Linked DNA regions of Homo sapiens: region 1 is linked to region 2. The links are contacts of gene promoters, found by promoter capture Hi-C in human tissues and cell types (Jung and others, 2019). All regions are on one chromosome and are shown on one strand. Each heading gives the region's core, a stretch centred on a gene start or on the middle of the fragment in contact. The rest is flanking DNA. Distances are from core to core; before and after follow the strand shown. Region 1 overlaps CUL4A (cullin 4A). Region 2 holds the start of GRTP1 (growth hormone regulated TBC protein 1).

Evidence for each region. The method cuts DNA at HindIII sites, captures the fragments that hold promoters and counts their contacts. A contact is called where the count stands out against the background at its distance.
Region 1: a contact is called between a fragment that was not itself captured here and the fragment with the promoter of GRTP1 in region 2, in 1 of the 25 tissues and cell types used here (aorta).

What each region holds. Positions count from the first base shown.
Region 1 is chr13:113,222,277-113,228,653 of GRCh38, reverse strand. CUL4A (cullin 4A) reads right to left here. Exons shown (of 20, transcript NM_001008895.4): 4 at 609-678. Among named protein-coding and RNA genes, the nearest start is that of CUL4A, 16 kb to the right of the region's middle. RefSeq lists an enhancer at 5,412-6,261. The HindIII fragment of the contact is 5,587 bases long and covers 1-4,376 here.
Region 2 is chr13:113,361,594-113,367,857 of GRCh38, reverse strand. It overlaps GRTP1 (growth hormone regulated TBC protein 1), which reads left to right and starts at 3,728. Exons shown (of 8, transcript NM_024719.4): 1 at 3,728-3,838; 2 at 3,948-4,096. The coding sequence starts at 3,807. It overlaps GRTP1-AS1 (GRTP1 antisense RNA 1), which reads right to left. Exons shown (of 2, transcript NR_120385.1): 2 at 5,990-6,264. RefSeq lists enhancers at 87-780, 1,475-2,168, 2,169-2,862 and a silencer at 3,850-4,144. The HindIII fragment of the contact is 3,925 bases long and covers 1,340-5,264 here.

The DNA of each region.
Region 1 (6,377 bases), core at 334-2,833, 140 kb after region 2:
GCCCACTACCTGGCTGGGGAGACTTGTGAACGCATCTCACCAAACCCTTCCCAACAGACCCTCAGCGAGCTCTAGCAGCTGCCAGCTACCTGGCCCAGAAAAGAAATACACCCATCGTCTCCTACTGATATCATTTAGAAAACGGAAGATTTCAACCTACTTAGGAAAGCTATTAATACGGTCTGTTCTCTCACTTAAGTAATTAACGGCCAGGTCACACTAAAAATGTATACATGACGTCAAGTCAAAGCCAAGACATCTACAAAGCCTAAGACGCTGGTTGTGCAGCTGCAGGAAAGACCTGGGATTCAGGCTAGATTCTGAGGAGTAAACTGTGCTTAAAGAGACATTTAGAGACCCATGCAGGCATCTAAGAACCCTGTCACCACTGCGGACTGTGACTGTGGACCTGAAGGCCAAGAGGGTCAGTGGTGCCCTCTCACAGGAGCTGAGGAGTTCACCTTCCCTGCTTTTCTCATCGTGCTGTTCAACCACAGCACTGAACACAGACAGAATCCTCAACAGAACTTCTATGTCTCAGCTCTCAATCATGTGGGTGAGGGAAGATGGATGAGGTCGTGTTTTGATGAAAAAGTGAACAAGCTTACCATTTGTCTGCAGTGGTCCTGCCAGCACGTGTTAATCTTCTTTAAAAATAAAACACTATCTAGTGAGTCTGTACAGATCTGCTAAGGAAAACTTTAAAAATGCTGGCCAATTTAATTATTACCTTTTTTTTTTTTTTTGAGATGGAGTCTCGCTCTGTCGCCCAGGCTGGAGTGCAGTGGCACGATCTTAGCTCAGCAGTGCAGCCTCTGCCTCCCAGGTTCAAGCGATTCTCCTGCCTCAGCCTCTTGAGTAGCTGGGATTACAGGCGTGTGCCACCACGCCCAGCTAATTTTTTGTATTTTTAGTAGAGACGGGGTTTCACCATGTTGGTCAGGCTGATCTCGAACTCCTGACCTTGTGATCCACTGGCCTCAGCCTCCCAAAGTGCCGGGATTACAGGCGTGAGCCACCGCAACCGGCCATTATTACAATTTTAACCCCTTAATTTCAGCTACCTTCTCCACTGAATACTACACACCATTCAGTAACTGGAATACTGAAAGAATATTAGTCTTGAATGTTCATGTCCCCCCAAAATTCATAGGCTGAAGCTCTCACTCTACGGTAATGGTGTTAGGAGGCAGGGCCTCTGGGAGGTGATTAGGTCATGAGAGTGGACAAGCCTCAAGAATGGGGTTACAAAAGAGACCCCAGAGAGCTCCCCTGCCTCTTCCACCACATAAGGATGCAGTGAGAAGGTGCTGGCTATGGACCAGGAAGCGGGGCCCCACCAGACATGCAATCTGCCAGTGCCTTGACCCTGGACCTCCAGCCTCCAGAGCTGTGAGCAACAGACTCCTGCTGTTGATGAGCCACACTCTATGGTGTTTTGTCATGGCAGCCCCAGTGGGCTAAGATACACTAGAAGTTCAATCATGGATCTCTGTATCTCATCACCAATGTGCACTCAGCTTGCCTGTGCTGCTTTCCCTTCCCACGGCCCCGCCTGCCTCTGGCCGCTCGCCACTCCCTCTCCAGCCTCCCTTCATCCTCTCCTTCCTTCACTGCCAGACACCTTCAAGTCCCTGCCGGCAGAAACACACCCAGGCCTTAAGTGCCCTGGGGGTAGGTGGCGGGACAAAAGGCCCCACTTCACAAAGGGCAGACACTGAACATACTCCCACAGGGGGGCTCCTGGAGATGGTGACTGGCCTGGTAAGAGTCACTAGGACTATTTTTTAAAAATTAAAAGAGATGGCACCTCACTATACTCCTAGGCTGGTCTTGAACACGTGGTCTTAAGTAATCCTCCTCAGTCTCCCAAAGTGCTAGGATTACAGGTATGAGCCAGTGTGCCCAGCCTGTGGCAAAGTGCAGCTGGACAGGAAAATGGCTCAGGTTTAACTTCCAGCCTCAATGAAAACTAACATGAACTCTCATCCATGCACCAAATTAGGAACACTCTTACCTTGACTCTTAGAATGTGTATTTTTAGGAAAAGGCCCAAAAAGTAGTTTAGGACAAAGAACCCAGAATATGGGCTCCTAGAGCAAGTGGTCTGGTGTCCCTCAGGTTCATGCAAAGCTGAGAATCATCAATGACAATAAACTGCTTTATGGTTTACGAAACACTCTTCACATCCACTCTCACTGAAAATCTCCCCAACCTCGTGGTGCAGACATTGTTCCCTTTGTACAGATTAAGAAAATGGCTTGTCAAAGGGGACAGAACATGGACTTCCTACATTTTAACTCTTGATCCACCGCCTGTCAGCAACACAATACTGGCCAAACCAAGGGACTTCTCTAGGTCTGTTTCTGCCGTGCAGCAAGACACTTCACACTCAAGAGCCAATGTGAGGTGGTGACAACATCCTCACACACAGAGAGGAGGAAAAACACATCAGTTAAGTAGGATGCACAAATCAGACATGAGCTGGAGTCTCAGGGTGGCAACGAGTGGCCTGACAAAGAAAGAGTGCCAGGGAGGGTAGGGTGCCAGGCAGAGCCTGAGGAGGAATAAACAGTGCTGAGGATAGCCAAGGGGCTCCCGGGGGGTCTGAGTCCTTGTCACACCAGGAAGTGCTGTGACCAAAGCTACAGGGGCCTGGCTAAGACAGCTTACTCTATTTTTTCTTGAGGCTTTGCAGAATTCTCAGAAGCACTGCCAGAAAATTAAAAACAGACACTTACAGCAAAGACCTAATGGTTGAATGGTTAACAGGTTCCTCTGGAAGTACTCTTTACAAATTGTTCAAAATTATAATGGCTCATTATATTAGGAATCTACAGAAACAGTCTGGACAAAACAAAAAAACCCATCCCAAGTGCATCTGGACAGGCTTCAAGGACCCCCAACAGCCATCCTGCAGCTCTGACTCCAGGAGCTGGACGGGAACTGCGGCCTGGACCTCCCAGCAAGCCTCTCTGCGGGCAGGCGGGCCACAGCAGCCGAAGGCGGAGCTTTGCTTCCAGATGAGGGTGCACAGATCCTTTAAACTTAACGGGGTTAAACTGACACCAGTCAATCTGACACCACTGGGCAGCTCAGGTGTTGTGAAGACAGAGTTCCACCTGGGGCAGTGTCTTGTTAAGATGGAAAGTCCAATGTAAAGTGTTCATTAAATGAGAAATACTTCCTCTAAAATAGCTCTGTAAAATCAATATAGATCCTCAATCAATAATTTTTTTGTTATTTCCCACAGAAAAAAACTACAAAATGGTAAGCTAAAATCAGTGTGGCATTTACTAAGTAAGCTTTGGCCTTCTAAACATCAAAATCAATTCCATATTCTGGGATATAACACATAGCCACAATGGTGTGCAAGTAATTCCAGGATGTGAGACACACAGACACCGTGAGTCTGTCAATAGTGTATTCTCGAGATAGGTTCTTCAGCAACCATCCTTTTTCTCACTTCAGAAAAGGGCCAATCTTCATTAAACGATTTATACAGCCTACTGAGACGAGTTAGGCAGGTCTTCAAACAGCAAACAAAATCCAACAGCAGAAATGCTTACACCATAGAAAAAAACCTACCTATCATATCTGTAACTAAAAAAAAAAAGAAAAAGCAAAAAGACGGTGCTTCTGTTGGGGTAGAAGAGGGATACATACATTTTCTACACTTGGTTATCTGCTTCTGCAATTCCAGGAACAAGTGGCCCATCTGCTGCCTGTACCGACAGACCGGACAGACCGCGAGGGGACAGCCCTAGGCCGACCCTCATTCATCCACACAACCCATGAAGGCAGGGGTGCTTGTTTTGTCTCCTCTGATCTGGCCGAGCATTAACAGGGTTCTCTTGGGCTTTCGTCTCTTCATCTGGAAAATATGGTCAATAAAGATACCTACGGCTCAGGGTGTTGTGAGACAAAGCAATTCATGAATGTGCAGAGCTTGGCCTACTGCCAGCAAGTGCTCCGTACACGATATCTGGTCAAGTGAGAACAGGCACAAAGTCTTTCTAAGGAAAGACAAAGCCTGCTGTCGCCAGTGCGGATCATAAAGGCACACTTAGAGGAAACTGGAGCTTTGCAACTTCCCCAACAGCCAAGGTTCCCAGCTCACTCCCGTGCCCTTCCCTTCTGACCACACGGCTATCATGGTGTCCACCACTGCCTGGCATTCTGTGGCTGACCAGAGCTGCAATGCTGTCAAGGTGAACCAGGGGAAGGAAAATGTGAGTTTCATCTATAGTTATCTACAGGTTAGATTCTGAGGACAGTTGGCTTGACATTTTTTTTTTTTTGAGATGGAGTCTCGCTCTGTCACCCAGGCTGGAGTGCAGTGGTGCGATCTCGGCTCACTGCAAGATCTGCCTCCCGGGTTCATGCCATTCTCCTGCCTCAGCCTCCCGAGTAGCTGGGACTACAGGTGCCCGCCACCACGCCCGGCTAATTTTTTTGTATTTTCAGTAGAGACGGGGTTTCACCGTGTTAGCCAGGATGGTCTCGATCTCCTGACCTCATGATCCGCCCACCTTGGCCTCCCAAAGTACTGGGATTACAGGCGTGAGCCACCGCACTCTGCGGGCTTGACATTTTTGAAGAGCTCCTGTTGCCCACGTAGCTTGGCTGGGTGGCACGTGGTCCTGCAGCATGTGGTGTGGGTTCTGCAGCAGCTGCCTGTGGCTGAGCATGTGTATGAGTGCAAGGGTACAAATGGCCTTTATTTTGAGGAAGGGACGTCACCAAGAGCAGCTATCTATTTTGAAACGGACAGCTAAGTGCAGAATTTATCAAACATGTGAGACAAGAAAACGGATGTGGTAAACGAAGAAGATGGTAGTGAATGACTCAATTCCACAAAAGCCCTTTTTCTACCTGCACATCTGATGGGTTTCATCTATAATCTAATATCAGCATACAATCAAAATATAATCGGTACATAACATTACTTAAATCTGGCCGGGCATGGTGGCTCACGCCTGTAATCCCAACACTTTGGGAGGTCGAAGCAGGCAGATAATCCAAGATCGCAAATTCGAGACCAGCCTGACCAATGTGGAGAAACCCCGTTTCTACTAAAAATACAAAATTAGCCAGGCGTGGTGGCGCATTCCTGTAATCCCAGCTACTCGGGAGGCTGAGACAAGAGAATCGCTTGAACCCAGGAGTGGAGGTTGTTGCGGTGAGCCAAGATTGCGCCATTGCACACTAGCCTGGGCAATTAAGAGCGAAACTCCGTCTCAAAACAACAACAACAACAACAAATTACTTAAATCTTAGAAAGTAGAGTTACTTGAAGTACTGGAATATCCCAGAGGCAAAAGAAATCTGAATATGCAGACCTTGGAATACTCCCTGCCACACAGTATCTCAGCATCTGCCATCACATTAACATTTCCCCAGGTGAGACTGGGCTGGGTCAGAACTCTCTTCCAGCAAAAACAAGCTTTTTGAGAGCAGGACCCGTGCCATTCATGCCTGTCCCTGGTCCCCAACGCACAGTGCTGAGTTGGACAGAAACACCCCATGTTTACTAGGTTAACGTACGAATGTAGCCTAAAAGCCTTCATCACAGTAACCAGCCACTTCCTGGTCTCATCATCCCCTCAGACTCTACTTACTGGTCACTAAGCCGCCTGCCATATTAAACTCGCCCCTCGATTCCCACAAGATGACTCTCCAGGTTCTCCTCTCATCTTCCTGACAGCAGCCCTCATCCACCTCCTCTCATGGCTCTGCTCATTTTCTTTTTAGAGATGGGGGTCTTGCTCTGCTGCTCAGGCTGGAGTGCAGTGGCGCAATCTCAGCTCACTGCAGCCTCGGCCTCCTGGGCTCGTGCAATCCTCCCACCTCAGCCTCCAGAGTAGCTGGGACCACAGGTGTGAACCACACACCCGGCTAATTGTCGTCTAGGCTGCTCTTGAACTCTTGGGCTCAACTGGCCCTCCCAACTTGGCCTCCCAAAATGCAGTGCTAAGGTTAGAGGCGTGAGCCACTGTGTCTGGCCACTCTGCTCATTTTTCCTGGGCATCTCATCCATGTCTGGAGCCACTGGATCTGTGTCTCCAGCCCCAAATGCACAACAGGCATCTCTACCTGAGTGCCTCCTCACCTCCTTCCAAATCAACATGACCACGACAGACCCTCCCCGCCTCAATCCGTGTCTCCTCCTTCCAAATCAACGTGACCACGACAGACCCTCCCCGCCTCAATCCGTGTCTGGTTCATCCTTCCACAGCAGTCAGATCCTTTCCCTCTAACCATAAGAGGTTTGCTGGCAGGATGCTGCCATTCCACCCTGTGGTTTTGCTGCCCAGTCAAACCATTGTGGTGTGACCCCTCACACCACAGTGCACACACACAGGCACACTAACTTC
Region 2 (6,264 bases), core at 2,479-4,978:
CAGAACTGGTCACCAGTGTATTTGGTTCCAATTAGAACAACAGTTCAGTTACATATTTATGAGGCAAAAGACAGGACTTTGGAGGATGTGTCCAGCCTTGTCACAGGTAAATAAGGGACATCATGAATCTCATCTTTGTCACCTGGGGACAGGGTTCTGAGCTGTTTCCAGAACATAAAGGGGGGGACTTCCTAACCTCCCAGGATCATAGGGCTCAGGTAAAGCTTATCTGTCAATTTTCCTTAAAAATAATCATTACTGTTATATATTATTATGTATGTATATACACACACACCTCAGATGAGGGCTTGACTCTCCCTGAAATATTAACACACCCTTTCCACCTATAACATTGCCCCCTCGCCGCCGATTTCTGTCTCCAGCCCTCTGCTGAAAATCAGGCCACGGGTTCCACAGCCTGGCTGCACAATGCGGTCCATGGGCCAGAGCAGGGCCTCCTGCTAGCAGGTTGGAAATGCAGCGTCCCAGTCCCCAGCCAGCTCTGCAGCACCAGGACCCACAGGTCTCTGGCAAGACCTGTCCTCCCCTCAGGGCTAGAGTCGCACTGCACTGGAATTTCCTGCAGTGAGATTTGGGTGACCCTCCCCACTCCCAGTTGCCCGTCTCCTGTAACCAGGCAGCATGTGGTCAATTGACTGGCTTCAGCCTCCAGGACAGCCTGGAGCTCCGTGGGGTTTGGCACATGCTGTGGCTCCACGAAGATGCCCACGTCATGGTTCATCACTGCTCGGTGGGTTCTGCTGCCGTTATCTTTGTCCTCTGTACTCACATCCCATTTTCTCAGGTCCTCCCGGCCTTGGGGATGCTAGACGTTCCTTCTATCTTGATGGGCACCCCAGAACTGAAGTACTCCTGAAGCCCTTCTAACTTCCAAAGGGCAGCAGCTTCTACAAAAAAAGCAACAAGGGCCAGGCACAGTGGCTCGCGCCTGTAATCCCAGCACTTTGGGAGGCCAAGGTGGGCGGATCACCTGAGGTCGGGAGTTCGAAAACAGCCTGGCCAACATGGAGAAACCCCCGTCTCTACTAAAAATACAAAATTAGTTGGGCGTAGTGGCGCATGCCTGTAATCCCAGCTACTTGGGATGCTGAGGCAGGAGAATCGCTTGAACCCAGGAGGCGGAGGTTGCAGTGAGCCGAGATTGAGCTATTGCACTCCAGCCTGGGCAACAAGAGTGAAACTCCGACTCAAAAAAAAAAAAAAAAAAAAGCAACAAGACGGCTGAATTCCTGAAGGGAGGAGGGGCATCATGGGTGGTGACCCCACAGAGGCCCCCTGGTGTGGCCCCTGAGGCCCCTCAGACTGAAGAGGGCCTCCTGCAAGGGAGCTGGGTCCCCCGGGGGAGGGTGAATTCTGAGTCCCTGAACTGCAGGGCAAGCTGACCCAGAGCTCCAGCACTGCAAAGCCTCCCCCGGAAAGGGCTGTCTGGAGCGGCTGTGGCCAGCACAGTCACTCCTGGGGTGGGTGTGCACCTGGCTTTTGCATCATGGCTGACTGTGCTGGTGGCTTCACAGAAAGGGAGTTTGTGTGAGGATGCTCGGGTGCCTGCTGGGTGCTTGGCACTGGGGTCGGGGGGGCGGTGAATGGAGGCACCTGAGGGACACAGTCCCAGGTGGGAGCTGTCCCAGGTGGGAGCTGTTCCAGATAGGAGCTGCTGTCTCCCAGTCAGGTCCCAGGTTGGGGCTTGGCCAGGCCTGGGCTGGAGCGGGAGACCTTTCTAGCTGCCTCGGTCTGGCTGCCCACCCTGCACAGAGCCTGGGGCTCTGGCCTCTCTGTATCTCTCCTCTCCACTCTTCCTGGAGGGCACCGCTCTTATCTGACCTGCTCCCCCACAGTCTCCCTACATCTGGCCCAAAAATACACTTGGTGGCAGTCCCGCCATCACACTCAGGCTCGGGAGCTGGCGGCCCCTGGTCCGTGCTGCCTGCCACGCTGCTTTCCACGGCAGTGGTGGGAAAGGGAGGTTAGAACCCCATCTCCATGGCCAGAAGGCAGGAATTAGGGAAAAGGGGAGCCGTGAGGCTTCCAGGCCTGGGGTTGGAACAGAAGCTGCGCGGTGTGGGGCGATTTGGGCGCAGGACCCCGGGTGCTGGGAAGTGGGGAGCAGGACTGTGTCTGTTGCTCCAGAAAGCGCGAGGGATGCGATATAGGAAATTCGGGCGTCAGTTAGAGCCCGAGAGGGGTTCAGGGAGTCACTGACTTAGGCAGAGAGGAGCCCAGACGGGGTTCGAAGACCCTGGGGACGGACGCCCACCTGTCAGTCCTGGACTGTGGGGCACCCGTAGGCCGAGGGGCAGGAGGCTATGGCCCTGTCTCCTGGCTTGGGTCTAAACATCCCAAGGAGGTCAGACCGTAGAGTGGGGGCTGTGTGATCTTTCAAATGAGGGACGCCGCGTGTTACCAAAGGCCAGTGCTGAGGAGCTGGGCTGAAAGCTTGGGGAGTTCCCAGAACCAGCAGACTAGGAACGGGAGGAACCGTGTCGGGGGCTCTGCTCCGCTGGGCACTGACCCCCACCCCGCCCCCCGGTCTTGCAAGGGCTGGAGAAGGGTGAAAGGCAGAGGCGGGAGTCCGCACTTAGGGACCGGTCCGTTCCACACGCTGCTGACCAGGCTCCTGGGTGGCGCTCGCATGGAACATTCCGGAAACACCCATGGGAAGGTCCCAAGTTGGTTCCGAAAGGCCCTGACGGACGCGCAGGGGACGCTGAGCCTGTGATCCTCGCCTCACCCAGACGAGGCCGGGCTGCTTCTCACAGGAAAGTGCGTCTGGAGTCCGGGGACGGCCTCCTCCTGGGGCCTGTCCAGGTCGCCCTGGGCCTAAATTACAGGCGGGGAGAGGCCTGTCGGAGGAGCCCCCGCTCCAGACCCCTGGGGGACCCAGGGCGAGGTCGCCCCAGCGCCTCACGTCTGGGGGCTCCCCTTTGCCACGTCGCCAGAGCAAAATTCAAAATCTGCAGTTCTGGCAAATTTCCGGGGCCTCCCGGACACGAAAAGCAGCTGAAATCTCAGGACAATGTCATTGGATGCGGACCGAGAAGAAGCCGTTCGGAACCAGAGCTGCCCCGGATTCTCCCAGGCCTGGCTCGCCGGTGGGGGGACCCCGGTCCCTGGTTTGGGGGGGCAGGAACGGGCGGGCGCCCCTGGGGGCTTCTCATTTGTGTGTTGGTCTCGGCCTTGAAATGCAGCGGAGAAAATAAAAAATAAAATAAAAATAGGAGTCAGGTGTCAGAGTCGGGTCGGCCAGGCACTGAGGTTTGAAGGAATCGCAGAAGAAGCTCCTCTCACCCGGGTCCAGGCCGCGGGGGTTCTGCGGGAGGCGCCCCCGATTCTGCCCGCGGGACGCCGCGGCCTCGGAAGCCCCGGGAGCAGGCCCCGCCCCGCCCCCACCCTCCTCTCTCCCCAAGTCCTCCCGCCCCCCCAGCCCCGCCCCTCCCCCGCCCTGGGTGCTCCCCTGCCCCTCCCCCGGCCCTCCCCCGCCCCTCACCCGCTCCTGCCCCTCCTCTCTCCCCAGGTCCTCCCGCCCCCAGCCCCGCCCCTCCCCCGCCCTGGGTGCTCCCCTGCCCCTCCCCCGCTCCTGCCCCTCCTCTCTCCCCAAGTCCTCCCCGCCCCCAGCCGCCCCTCCCCCCGCCCTGCCCCCCCCCGCCCCCGCCTCCAGCCCCGCCCCTCTCCGCTCCCCGCCCCGCCCCCACGCGCCCGCGGTCCCGCCGGAAGGACTTAAGCGCCCCGGAGCCGGGAGGCGAACTTGGGACCCGCTGGCCTCGCTCGGTGCGCGCCTCCCTCCCCGCATGCAGCCCGCCGAGCGCTCGCGGGTCCCCAGGTGTGTGGCGCGGGGTGCGGGCGTCCCCGGCGGCTGCGGTCCCCGCGCGGGCCCGCGACCCCCCAGAGGAAACTTCGGGGACGCCGGCCTCCTTCTCTCGGTTTTGCAGGATCGACCCGTACGGATTCGAGCGGCCTGAGGACTTCGACGACGCCGCCTACGAGAAGTTTTTCTCCAGCTACCTGGTCACGCTCACCCGCAGGGCGATCAAATGGTCCCGGCTGCTGCAGGGCGGGGGCGTCCCCAGGAGCCGGACAGGTGGGTCCCGGGGGCGCAGGTGGGTCCCGAGGGCGCAGGTGGGTTGGGCTGGGACGGGCCGGGCAAAGTCCGGGCTCCCGGAGCGGAGGGAGGGGGAGGAACCTTTCCGGGCAGGTCGGGACGAAGCTGCGGGCTCCGAGCTAGGGCAGCCGCAGGGACCGGTTTTCCCGCTTTGAGATGGGCCGGCGGGTCGGACGCGAAGGAGACCCGTCCCTCCCAGCAGGGAGCCATATCGGGATGGATCAAAACTCGATCCATGCCGGGCGCGGTGGCTCACGCCTGTAATCCCAGCGCTTTGGGAGGCCGAGGCGGGCGGATCACGAGGTCAGGAGTTTGAGACCAGCCTGACCAACATGGTGAAACCCCGTCTCTACTAAAAATACAAAATTAGCCGGGCGTGGTGGCTCCTGCCTGTAGTCCCAGCTACTCTGGAGGCTGAGGCAGGAGAATCGCTTGAACCCAGTAGGCGGAGGTTGCAGTGAGCCGAGATTGCGCCATTGCACTCCAGCCTGGGCGACAGAGCGAGACTCCGTCCTTGTGACGGGACCCACAGGGCCCTGCTCGACCTGCCGCTCCTCCGCGACCCCAGGCCTCCTACTGCTGCGGTGAGCACCGGCCTGACCGCCCGCCCGCCTCGGGGTTAGCTGCAGGGCCCCCTCCTCCGGGGCGCCCCAGGCTTCCCTGTGCGGAGGGCACCTCCTCATTTCTGCCTTTCCCAGCACAGCCCCTGCTGGAGTCAAAAACCCTTCCTCCCTGCAACGGATTTTTCATTCACTGCTCAGTCCTCAGAACCTGGGGCAGTGCCAGGCGACTTCCCTGTGTGTTCAGTGAATGAATGAAGTGTCTGCCTGGGGTGAGGGCTTGGTGGGAGTGTGCCCTGGAGCTAGGAACTCAGAGAAGTGGGGTCAAAGGGGAGTCCTGGGGGCTTCCTGAGAAGGGGGATGTGAATGGCAGCTGGGCTTCCAGGGACCGAGCAGTAGGGACCTGGTGGGGAAGGACAGAGATGAAACCAGGGGCCCTGCACCTGGGCGGAGGGTCGGAGGTGTGTGGTGACCACGGCCAGGCACAGAGAAGCCAACTGTTAAAGGTTTTCCAGGCAGGGGGTGACAAGATCAACTTTTGCTTTTATTTATTTATTTGAGACAGGGTATCCCTCTGAGTGCAGTGGCACAATCACCACTCACTGTAGCCTTGACCTCCTGGGCTCCAGCCATCCTCCCCTCTCAGCCTCCCGCATAGCTGGGACCACTGGTGTGGCCACCACTCCTGGCTAATTTTTAAATTTTTTATAGAGATGGAAGTTAATATCCTATATGCTTCCCACGAATGCATCATGTCCCATCCCTGTGGCCTCTGCATGTTCACATGTTTCCAGTGGAACGTGTGTCTTTATTTTTCCTTTTCATTTATTCTTTTTGATTTATTTATTTTTGAGACAGAGTCTCACTCTGTCGCCCAGGCTGGAGTGCAGTGGTGCGATCTCAGCTGACTGCAACCTCCACCTCCTGGGTTCAAGTGATTCTCCTGCCTCAGCCTCCTGAGTAGCTGGGATTACAGGTGCACACCACTACACCTGGCTAATTTATTTTTTATTTTCTTATTTTTTTTATTTTGAGACGGAGTCTCACTCTGTCGCCCAGGCTAGAGTGCAGTGGCATGATTTCAGCTCATTGCAACCTCTGCCTCCTGGGTTCAAGCGATTTTCCTGCCTCAGCCTCCCAAGTAGCTGGGATTACAGGCACCTACCACCACGCCAGGCTAATTTTTCTATTTTTTAGTAGAGATGGGTTTTACCATATTGGCCAGGCTGGTCTCAAACTCCTGACCTCAAGGGATCTGCCCACGTTGGCCTCCCAAAATGCTGGGATTACAGGCATGAGCCACTGCGCCTGATTTATTCTTAAAAGTTAACTGTCTTTTAATTTTAAAAAGTAACGTAAAAGTATATAAGACATGTGAACTTAAAAAGCATAATTTATGTACATGGTAAACACTTTAATCATACTGAGGGCTACAAAGTGCAACAGGGAGTTTCTCTCCCACCCATGGCCCCCATCTCCTATAGAGATGACCGCAGGGGACTGTCCTTCCGTCCCCCTCAGGAGCAGAAGTCCACGCTTGGTTCTGCAGTTTGCTTTAAGAGCAGGGGAAGTCCGTGGGAAGTCCTG